3 separate regions of the Homo sapiens genome follow, and regions 2 and 3 are each linked to region 1. Evidence: promoter capture Hi-C in 16 types of primary human blood cells and fetal thymus (Javierre and others, 2016). All regions are on one chromosome and are shown on one strand. The core of a region is centred on a gene start or on the middle of the fragment in contact, and the rest is flanking DNA. Distances in the headings are between cores, read along the strand shown.

Region 1 (2,700 bases), core at 116-2,615:
CGCCCGTTTTCATTCTCCAGGCTGCGAAGAGACGGGTAGGGGAAGCGCTTCCGGCCCCCCAGGCTGGGTGGAAAGCGACTGCAGGCTTACGGATCTCAGAAAGAGTGGAGAGCCCCTGCCACTTTATTCCATACCCCCTTGCGTTTTCGAACCCCTAAGGTCATCAACGACCCGGAAAGCCGGGAGGGGATCACCCACCCCACTTTCTGGGGAGTGCGTGCGTGGGCGGGGAGGCTTATCCAAGTAAAAGGGGGTGGGCAAAACGGAAAGGGTCACTTTGACGTACTGAGTCTCTGCGAAGGCCTCACCGTATGTGCCGGCAGCCGCGTGTCCTGGTCTCCGCCGGGTCACGACCTTCGGAGTTTCCGAGTGCGCCTCAGGCCTGGGACGCGCGGCGCTGTCTCCCCAGTCTCGGAGCCGTGTGCGCAGCGGCCGGCAGGGGGCACTCGCGTCACGGGGAGCCCGCCCGCCGCGCCCGCCTGGCTTGACCCGGGCTTTGGGGCTGACCCGGAGCCTGGCCCGGAGCTGCCTGCGGCCGCGGATGCCGGCGACATTTGGGGCCCGGCTAGGCACAGAGCAACTGGTCGCCAGGGAAGGGCGGGGGGGCGGCCTCCCAGCCGGAGACAAACAAGCAATTAATTCCGGAGCTGAGTTCCCATCTGCCAGGCCTGCTGACAACAGGTCCGGCGCACGCCCGCAGGACCTCCCGCTTCCCGGGCGGCACGGCGCGCACACCCACTTGCGGGCACACGCGCGGCTGTAAAGACACGTGCCGTTCGCAGACGCGCCGAGGCACAGATACGCCGGCGCGGTCGCTGCCCGGCTCGAGGCGCACACCGCGGCGACACTAACCCACGCGCGACAGTTAGACCTAAAGTGGCCCGCGACACGCAGAGTACGCTGGGCTTGCTGGAAAGGCGCCTGGGAGTCTCGGGGCCGGGGTCCCGCCCCTTCCTCGGCCCACCTCGCCGTGGGCCTTGGGCAAGAGCGTCCCCTCCGCAGCCTCAGTTTTCCCGCCTGTAGAGGGAGGGGCGTCGGCGCCTCCTGGGAGACGCGCAGCCCTGGTGTCCCGGGAGAGGGGCGGGAGGCGCATGCGCGCGCGCAACTAGATCCTCGCCGCCGCCCCCAGCGCCCCTCCCCGGGGCAGGGACTCACCTAACAGGTTGGGGTCCTTGGAGTGCGCGGGGCCGCGTGGGGAAGCGGGGACCCTACCCCCCCCACGCGCCGCCCAGCACTGGGCAAGGGCGGGGCACTCTCTGGGCTCCCGCCCCTCGCCGCCCGCCCCGGGAGCCCGAGCCCCGCCCTTCCCCGGCCCCGCCCTCGCCTCCCGAGCGCGCCCACCGGAGCCACCGCGCTCCTCGCGACACTCGCAGGCTCTGCGAACTTCCGAGCGGCTGGGCCGGGCCATGGGGGCGCCTCGGGGCCGGATCACGTAGCCGCGGCGCCCCCGGAGAGCCAGCGTGGCCGGGAGCGCCTGCCGGGCTCTTCCCGCGCCCCGGCCATGGTCGGCCGCGGCGTCCCTCTGTGCGCTGCGCAGCCCGCGGTACGCGCGGCCCGGCCTGGAGAGGGAGGCGGGCGGCGGGGGCCCGGGACGGCGAAGATACTCGCGGTGTGCGCTGGATCCCTGGGGGCCGGGCCTCCTGCTGAGGGTAGCGGACCCGCAGGCGGGACCTCCGGGGATGGAGGGAGTGGGTGAGCGCCAGGGTCGTGCCCAGGGCTCCTAACTTTGGCAAGAGCGTCACGCTGGGGCAGGGCGCGCAGGGGTCTGGATCCGACGGACGTCCCAGGCTCACTGTCCGCTTCCGCCCCCACACCCTGCAGGTGGCCGAGGGCGGCCCGGCCCGCGAGCCGCCGCCGCTGCTGGAGGTGTCCCCCCGAAAGAGGCTACCCGCCGGGCCCGACCAGGACCCATGCGGCAGCCGCCCTGCTCCCGAAGGCGCCGGGGCCGGCCCAGAGCAGGGCCACTCGGCCGGCGGAGGCGGCTGGTGCCGCCACTGCCACACGAAGCTGGTGGAGCTCAAGCGACAGGCGTGGAAGCTGGTCAGCGGGCCCGGGACCACCCTCCGGGTAAGTGACACTTCCTTAGGCCGACCCCTCCGAGCAGGGCCACGCCGAACTTGGGTAGAACTTGGGGCTTGGAGGGAAGCAGGGTTCCACTCCTTCCCTGCTGCTGTTTCCACAAAGAGTTATCAGCCAGGACTTCCCTTCTGCGGGCCTCAGTTTCCCGGTCTGTAACACCATGTGTGAGCTAGGGAGCTCAGCCCGAGGGGCCCTGCTGCCTCGGATGGGAGGGGCCTGGGCTGGCGTTCCTCCCCCAGCCCAGATGTCCCACAGCTGGAACGCAGGTTTGTGTGGGAGGAGGAGGGGAGAGAGCGGATGGCAGGGACTCCACCCAGGGCGGGACAGCTCCAGCCCTACCAGCAGGGAGAGGTTATTTGGTGCATTGTGGCCCTTGGGGCACCTGGGCCCCCAGCCAGGTGTCTGGAAATTACATACCTGGGGCCGGGGGGCCTGGCAGGTGAAAGGGTGGGCCACAGCAGCTGGGGGGTCCCTGCCTACTCCTCTCCCAGCCTCAAGGATAAGAACTGTTGTCCCATACCTCCTGGGATAGACTGAGGCAGTGGCCGCCCATGGGGAATTGAGTCGGGGCCCTCTGGGTTCCCCAGGCTCCAGCCCCAGGGGCAGGTGCTTGCAGGGGAG
Region 2 (2,700 bases), core at 199-2,698, 520 kb after region 1:
GTCTCTGGGATTTACGTCTGAGGGTCATTTGTGACGCAGCAACAAACAGATGCATTTTGCCGGTGGCGCATCCGCCCACGACGGAGCCTGGCTCAGCTCTGCAGGTGCGCTGCACCACCCCTGGTGTCCTGGCGTCACTGGTACCTGTTTCTCTCTCAAAGCTGTCCTGGTTTGGAAGATGAGTGGTACAGCCATCCCATCAATGCGAAACCAAAGGCCCCCTGAGGCAGCCCCCACAATTGAAGAGCAGGCTGCCCTCAGAAGGGGCCCAAACCCCTGCCATTGGACCAAACTGGCTGATTTAGTTTCCTGCCCTCTAAAGTGGAAATTAAGAAACTGACAATGAAAATGTCCCCTTTAGGCTGGGAGCGGTGGCTCATGCAGATAATCCCAGCACTTTGGGAGGCTGAGGCAGGAGAATCACTTGAGCCCAGGAGATGGAGGTTGCAGTGAGCTGAGATCGCACCACCGCACTCCAGCCTGGGTGGCAAAGCGAGACCCTGTCTCAAAAAAAGTCATAGCTTGACTTCCAGAGTCTTCCTGTCTGCCCGGTGCTGGTCGGTGGTCTCTGGAAGCCCTCCAGCTGCCACCTTCCTTTCTGTCCCTCCCCGGGAGGGATATGCAGGCCCAGAGGAGGTGACTCCAGGCGGGTGGTCCCAGAGGAAGGGGGCTCCACCCTTCCCCTGAGTAGTGGGGAATGTGGCTTCACCCTTCCCCTGCATAGTGGGGAATGTTTGGGATCTGCTGGGAGGGGTCTGCCATGGGGGCAGTGTGGGAAGGTACTCAGAAACCACCAGCACCCCCCACCCTGGTGGCCCTGGATTCTGGTGGGGCCACTGGAAGCCCGGACCCATGCAGGTCTCAGCAACATCACCCCCTCCACAGTGAGATCCGTGTCAGAGTGACCCGCCCCAACCAGTCCCAGGGCTCCCTGCTTCTCAGACCCTCCCTCCTTCCCAGCCCAGAGCCCCTCCCTCCGAAGCTTCCCTTCTCCTACTCCACCCCTGCTGTGGGGAGAAAAGACCTGCAGAGTACCCCAACAAGCCCTCTGCACTGGGGGAGGGGTGCACGTCCACTCACCCAGAAGGGGATTGGGAACCAGAAGCCAGGTGAGCCTCCCTGAGATCACAGGGCCTGATTCCGGGACCCCAGTGTCCAACACCTGCCCCCCCAGGGTGCTCCACAGCCCCTGCCTACACCTCAACCCCCCTCCACCTCCACATCTGTTCAGGTGATGTCCAACACCACCCGAATCTTACTGACCACTGGTGAGAAAGGGAGGGGCGAGGTTGGCCTCTGCATGGTAAAGCTGGGTAAACTGAGGCAGCACGTTCTGGGCAGCCCAGGACGCCCAGGTTCCCGCCAGCCCACGGCCTCTCCCGCCTTGCACGGGCTTCACAGTTTGCCAGCGAGGGCACAAACGGGGGCTCCGCGGGCCGGCGACTCACCGCGCCTTCCCTACCCCGCCCCAGTTTCTCCCATGGAGCTGGTCTGCAGGCCCGGCATCCACAAGCCCCACCGCACTGCACCGCTCTGCAGGTCGCTGGCGCCTGTTCTGGCCTCGCTGGGACCCCCACCCAGACGCACCCCACAGCCAACTCCACCGGACCCACGCTGCCCGAGTATTTTTAGCAGAGGGTCAGATGCCTCTTAAACCTCAGCTGAGACGTGAATTTCCTCCCTGACAGCTGCGGCCAGGAGCCGCACGTCCTGCCTGGCGGGCGTGGGCGGTTCTGACCTCGGAGGCACAGCTGCAGGGTCTGCAGTCCTCTGGGAACTTCCTCCTCCCAGGTGCCCCGATTTGGGCTCCCTGGGTGCCTCCGCCCCAGGCCGCCCACCAGGCGCTCACTTGCCCGGTCCTCCGTCTGGAGCCCCTCCCGATGGCCGTCGCCACCCACTCTCCTTCTCTGTCTGGAAGCTTGGAGAGCAAGAGCAGAGGCCTGGGTTCAGATTCTCAGGGATCTGGGTTCAAGTCCTGCCCCCACCCCCCTGCACTTGGGAAAGCTGCTACCTCTCAGAACCCGTTTCCTCCACTGTGAAGTGGAAGGAAAATTGCCCACCTGGGGGCTGTTGCGACTATAACCAGCCAGCGGTGCCTGCAGCACCCACAGACCCCCAGGCGTCTTCAGGGCTCCCTGTGCCCCAGCCAGCGCCAGGAGCCTGCAGGACCGAGAGGGGCCCTGGCAGGGCTGCACAGATATTCAGATGTTCAGACCTGAGGCCCAAGACCTGCCTGCCAGGACAGGGACGCTCCTGCCTGGGGATGCTGGGGTCCCAGAAAGTGAGAAGCAGTGGCCCAGCGCCCTCTGCTCTCACTTCCTCCCCACCAAGCACAAGTACTAATTACGCACACCTCAGCTCCCCGGGGGGGCCAGGAGGAAATGCCCGGCAGAGCCCTCCGTCCTACCCCGTGCAGCCTGGGTCTCCCTCCACGGGCCCAGCCTCTTCCACTGCTGCTTTCAGTTACCCGGCTTTGTAGGCGCAAACACCCTGTCTGTTTTCTTCTTTCTCAAGCCATCTTAGCTGCTTTTGATCTGTATTCTTCCATGTAAAATGTAGACTACATTTATTTATTTCTTTAAAAAAAAATTGAAGCCCAAATGAGACTCCAATTAGAATTGCATTGAATTTATTATGTCCCCATAATTCTCTGGGGAGAATTATGTGTTTATAACATTACGTTTTCCTGTCCGTTCTGTT
Region 3 (2,700 bases), core at 165-2,664, 550 kb after region 1:
GCTCCTCAGGCACACCCGGGGCTGTGGCCTGCAGCTGCTCCTGCACTGGGGCTGAGCCAGCAAACTTCCGGGGCTGGGGCTGCTGGGCAGGGCAAGGTCCGCACAGGGAGCAGACAGACGCAGCCTGCAATTCGGCGCTTATCCCCACCGGAGCGGAGGCACACCAAAGCCAAAGGACACGCAGCTGGCCTCAAAGCAGAAGCTGCATCGGGGCTGGGAAGCCATTCAGGAGCCCTTTTCTCTCCCCTCGCCCTCACCCTGAGCCCTGGCCGCCACGGCCCACACAGCAGGCCCTCCGGAGAGAGATGTCAGGACTCCGAGTGGAGACACTTTATCCGCATGTTCTTGACCCTCATACAGCCCTTACGGGTACTTATTCTATTTTACAGATGGGGAAACTGAGGCTCCACAGAGTCATATCCGAGCCTGAGGCCGCACAGGGAGTGCTGGCGCCGGTTCTCAGGGCAGGGGTTGTGTCTGCTCTGTCACATGTCACACGGGGGCTCCCCCAGGCCTGCCTTCCTCTGCCCTCCCTCTAGCTGCCAGTGGCCCCCAAACCCCAGGCCTGGTGCGCTGCTTCCTGCAGCTCTGACTGAGGGTCAGACGTCAGAAGGGACTTCCAGAGCTGGGGTCTGGCTCTCATCCAACCAGGCTGGCTTTCAGAGCCGACTATGGGCACGCCCCATGCTGGTCAATGTCGGCGGTGGGGGGATGGGTGCCCCCCTCAATCTAGGAGACAGATGAGGCCGGACAGCAGAGGGGTGGCAGAGAAAACCCACCCCATTGCGACACCTCCGCGGCCCTCATGCAGCTGTCTCCACCAACCGGCGAAGTGCGGCTGCCCAAGACCGCCGAGACCCCATCAAGGGTGGAAGGGGGTCAGGCAGGGCTGCGGAGAGGAGGCCACATGGGTGGCCTGGTTGATGGGTAGGCTCTCTCTCCCCAAAGCCTGGGAAGAGCCATCTCTGCTGAGGGATCCCCGAACGCGGGGACTCCGGATCCGGCTGGCTGGAACGGGAGTCCCGGGCCGGGGCAGAGAGAGGTGAGCGGCGCCTGGGAGGCCAGTCCCACCGGAGGATAGGGGTGTAGGTGGACGGGAGGCGGTGGAGGGCAGGGACGGGGCGGACAGTGGGGGCTGAGGCGGGAGACGGCCCCGATCTGCGCGTCCCACCCCCATCTCCGCCCACCAGGAGCCAGGCCAGCAGGGACCGCGAGGGGGCGGCCAGGTTATTCACGGGAGTGGGGAGACCCCTTAAAGCGCCCTCAGGGACCGGCCACAGTGGGCGGGGCCACCCCCAGCCACCCACCTCCCCCCCCAGGCCCCGCCCCCGGCCCGCGCTCGCTCCCCACGTGGCCGCTGACGGGCGGGGCGGCACCTCCTCTTCCTCCCGCCCGCCCCGCCCGCCCCGCGCCCGCCAGGAGCCACCGTCCGAGCCTTGCGGAGCGCGGCAGTGGGCGCCGGCTGCCCGCAGCCCCTGACCCGGCCCCGGACGGAGCGCCGGCCGCACCACCGCCCTCTGGCCGTTGCCTCACCGGGTAAGTCCTTGGCCTCGGGGTCCGCTTGGAGCTTCAGGGGAAACTGAGTCCGGGAGGAGGCAGGGGCGTGCTTGGGTCCAGGAGCGAGGTTCCGGGCTGCGGCGTGTGTGCCCAGGTGGCGGCGGGCGGTCCGGCGGCGCAGGGTACAGTTCCCGGGCGGGGACCCCAGGGCGCCCCTGGCCCCCCCGGCTCCGCGCGCCCCGCTCGGGACTATGGTCCTCCGCGCCGAGGCACCGCCCGAGCGCGCACTGGCCGCAGAGTGGTGGGCCCAGGGTCGGCCGGGCCTACTCCCAGGGCAGGCGGGATTTCCGCGCCTCGCGGCTGCCACATCCTGACCATGAATCAGCCACAGTTGGGAAAATAAACTTCAACTTCGGGTCCGCCGCCCGGGTGGCACCCCGAGGTGCGCGCCGGCCTGCGGCCCCACCCTGACTGCTTGGCTTCCAGCTGCCCACGCGCAGGTGGGCGCACAGGGAGCCCTTCCCACCCCGCAACCGCTGGCAGGCTTAGGGGAATCAGCCTCCATCACAGCTCTCTGTTCCTTTTGGGTGGGGTAGGATCCAATCCCTGTACGCCCCCAGACCCACCCGTCAACCCTCTAACTGGGGAGTCGCCCCAGGAGTGACCATGACTAAGGAGGGGAAGGCGGGGTGACCAGCTGTGTCCCTGACCGTCCCCAATGCCCCCTGGGGAGCACAGGCGTGGGGGGTGGTCTGTCTGTCTGGGCCTTCTGGGGCTCAAGCTCCCCACCCAGGGCTCCCGCAGCTCAGCTGTGACCACAGCATTACTGCCCACTCCAGCTGGACACACCAGGAGGCAGAGAGGCAGAGACCCTGCCCAGGCAGGGAACCAGGAACCCAGGAACCGGGCCAGAGGTCAGGCACACCCAGAAGGCGCTGGACGTAGGAAATTCCCTTACTGCCAGCCCTGCCCCTCCGTCTGGCACTGGAATGGAGCAGGATACTCGCCCTCTTCCGGCCTCAGTTTCCACATCTGCACTCTGAAGGGTGGGACAGCAGCTCAGGCTGGGACCTGCTCCCTGCCGCCCTGCACTGGGAAGGTGGGGTCCCAGAGCAGTGCCTCAGACCCCGAGGGTGCCACCCAGCCAGGGGCTTTTGGGGTGTCGGTGCTCAGCCCCCAGTGCAGCAAATAGTAGCATTGGGT

The links. Contacts are between HindIII fragments. The CHiCAGO score rates a contact against its expected background, and 5 or more counts as called.
Region 2: a contact is called between a fragment that was not itself captured here and the fragment with the promoter of KIF26A in region 1, in 2 of 17 cell types (endothelial precursors and naive CD4 T cells). The highest score is 7.3, in endothelial precursors.
Region 3: a contact is called between the fragment with the promoter of INF2 here and the fragment with the promoter of KIF26A in region 1, in 1 of 17 cell types (erythroblasts). The highest score is 5.3, in erythroblasts.

The regions. Positions count from the first base shown.
Region 1 is chr14:104,137,222-104,139,921 of GRCh38, forward strand. KIF26A (kinesin family member 26A) reads left to right here and starts at 1,366. Exons shown (of 15, transcript NM_015656.2): 1 at 1,366-1,543; 2 at 1,822-2,067. The coding sequence starts at 1,502. KIF26A-DT (KIF26A divergent transcript) reads right to left here and starts at 1,408. Exons shown (of 3, transcript NR_158217.1): 1 at 309-1,408; 2 at 1-21. RefSeq lists an enhancer at 1-668 and a silencer at 365-534. The HindIII fragment of the contact is 14,398 bases long and covers 1-2,700 here.
Region 2 is chr14:104,658,506-104,661,205 of GRCh38, forward strand. It overlaps LINC02280 (long intergenic non-protein coding RNA 2280), which reads right to left. Exons shown (of 2, transcript NR_135293.1): 2 at 2,615-2,700. Among named protein-coding and RNA genes, the nearest start is that of LINC02280, 5.7 kb to the right of the region's middle. RefSeq lists enhancers at 1-67, 768-1,362, 1,363-1,957. The HindIII fragment of the contact is 936 bases long and covers 981-1,916 here.
Region 3 is chr14:104,688,204-104,690,903 of GRCh38, forward strand. It overlaps INF2 (inverted formin 2), which reads left to right and starts at 1,415. Exons shown (of 23, transcript NM_022489.4): 1 at 1,415-1,536. RefSeq lists enhancers at 1-396, 397-1,386 and silencers at 1,079-1,338, 1,439-1,528, 1,549-1,788, 1,879-1,928. The HindIII fragment of the contact is 13,120 bases long and covers 1-2,700 here.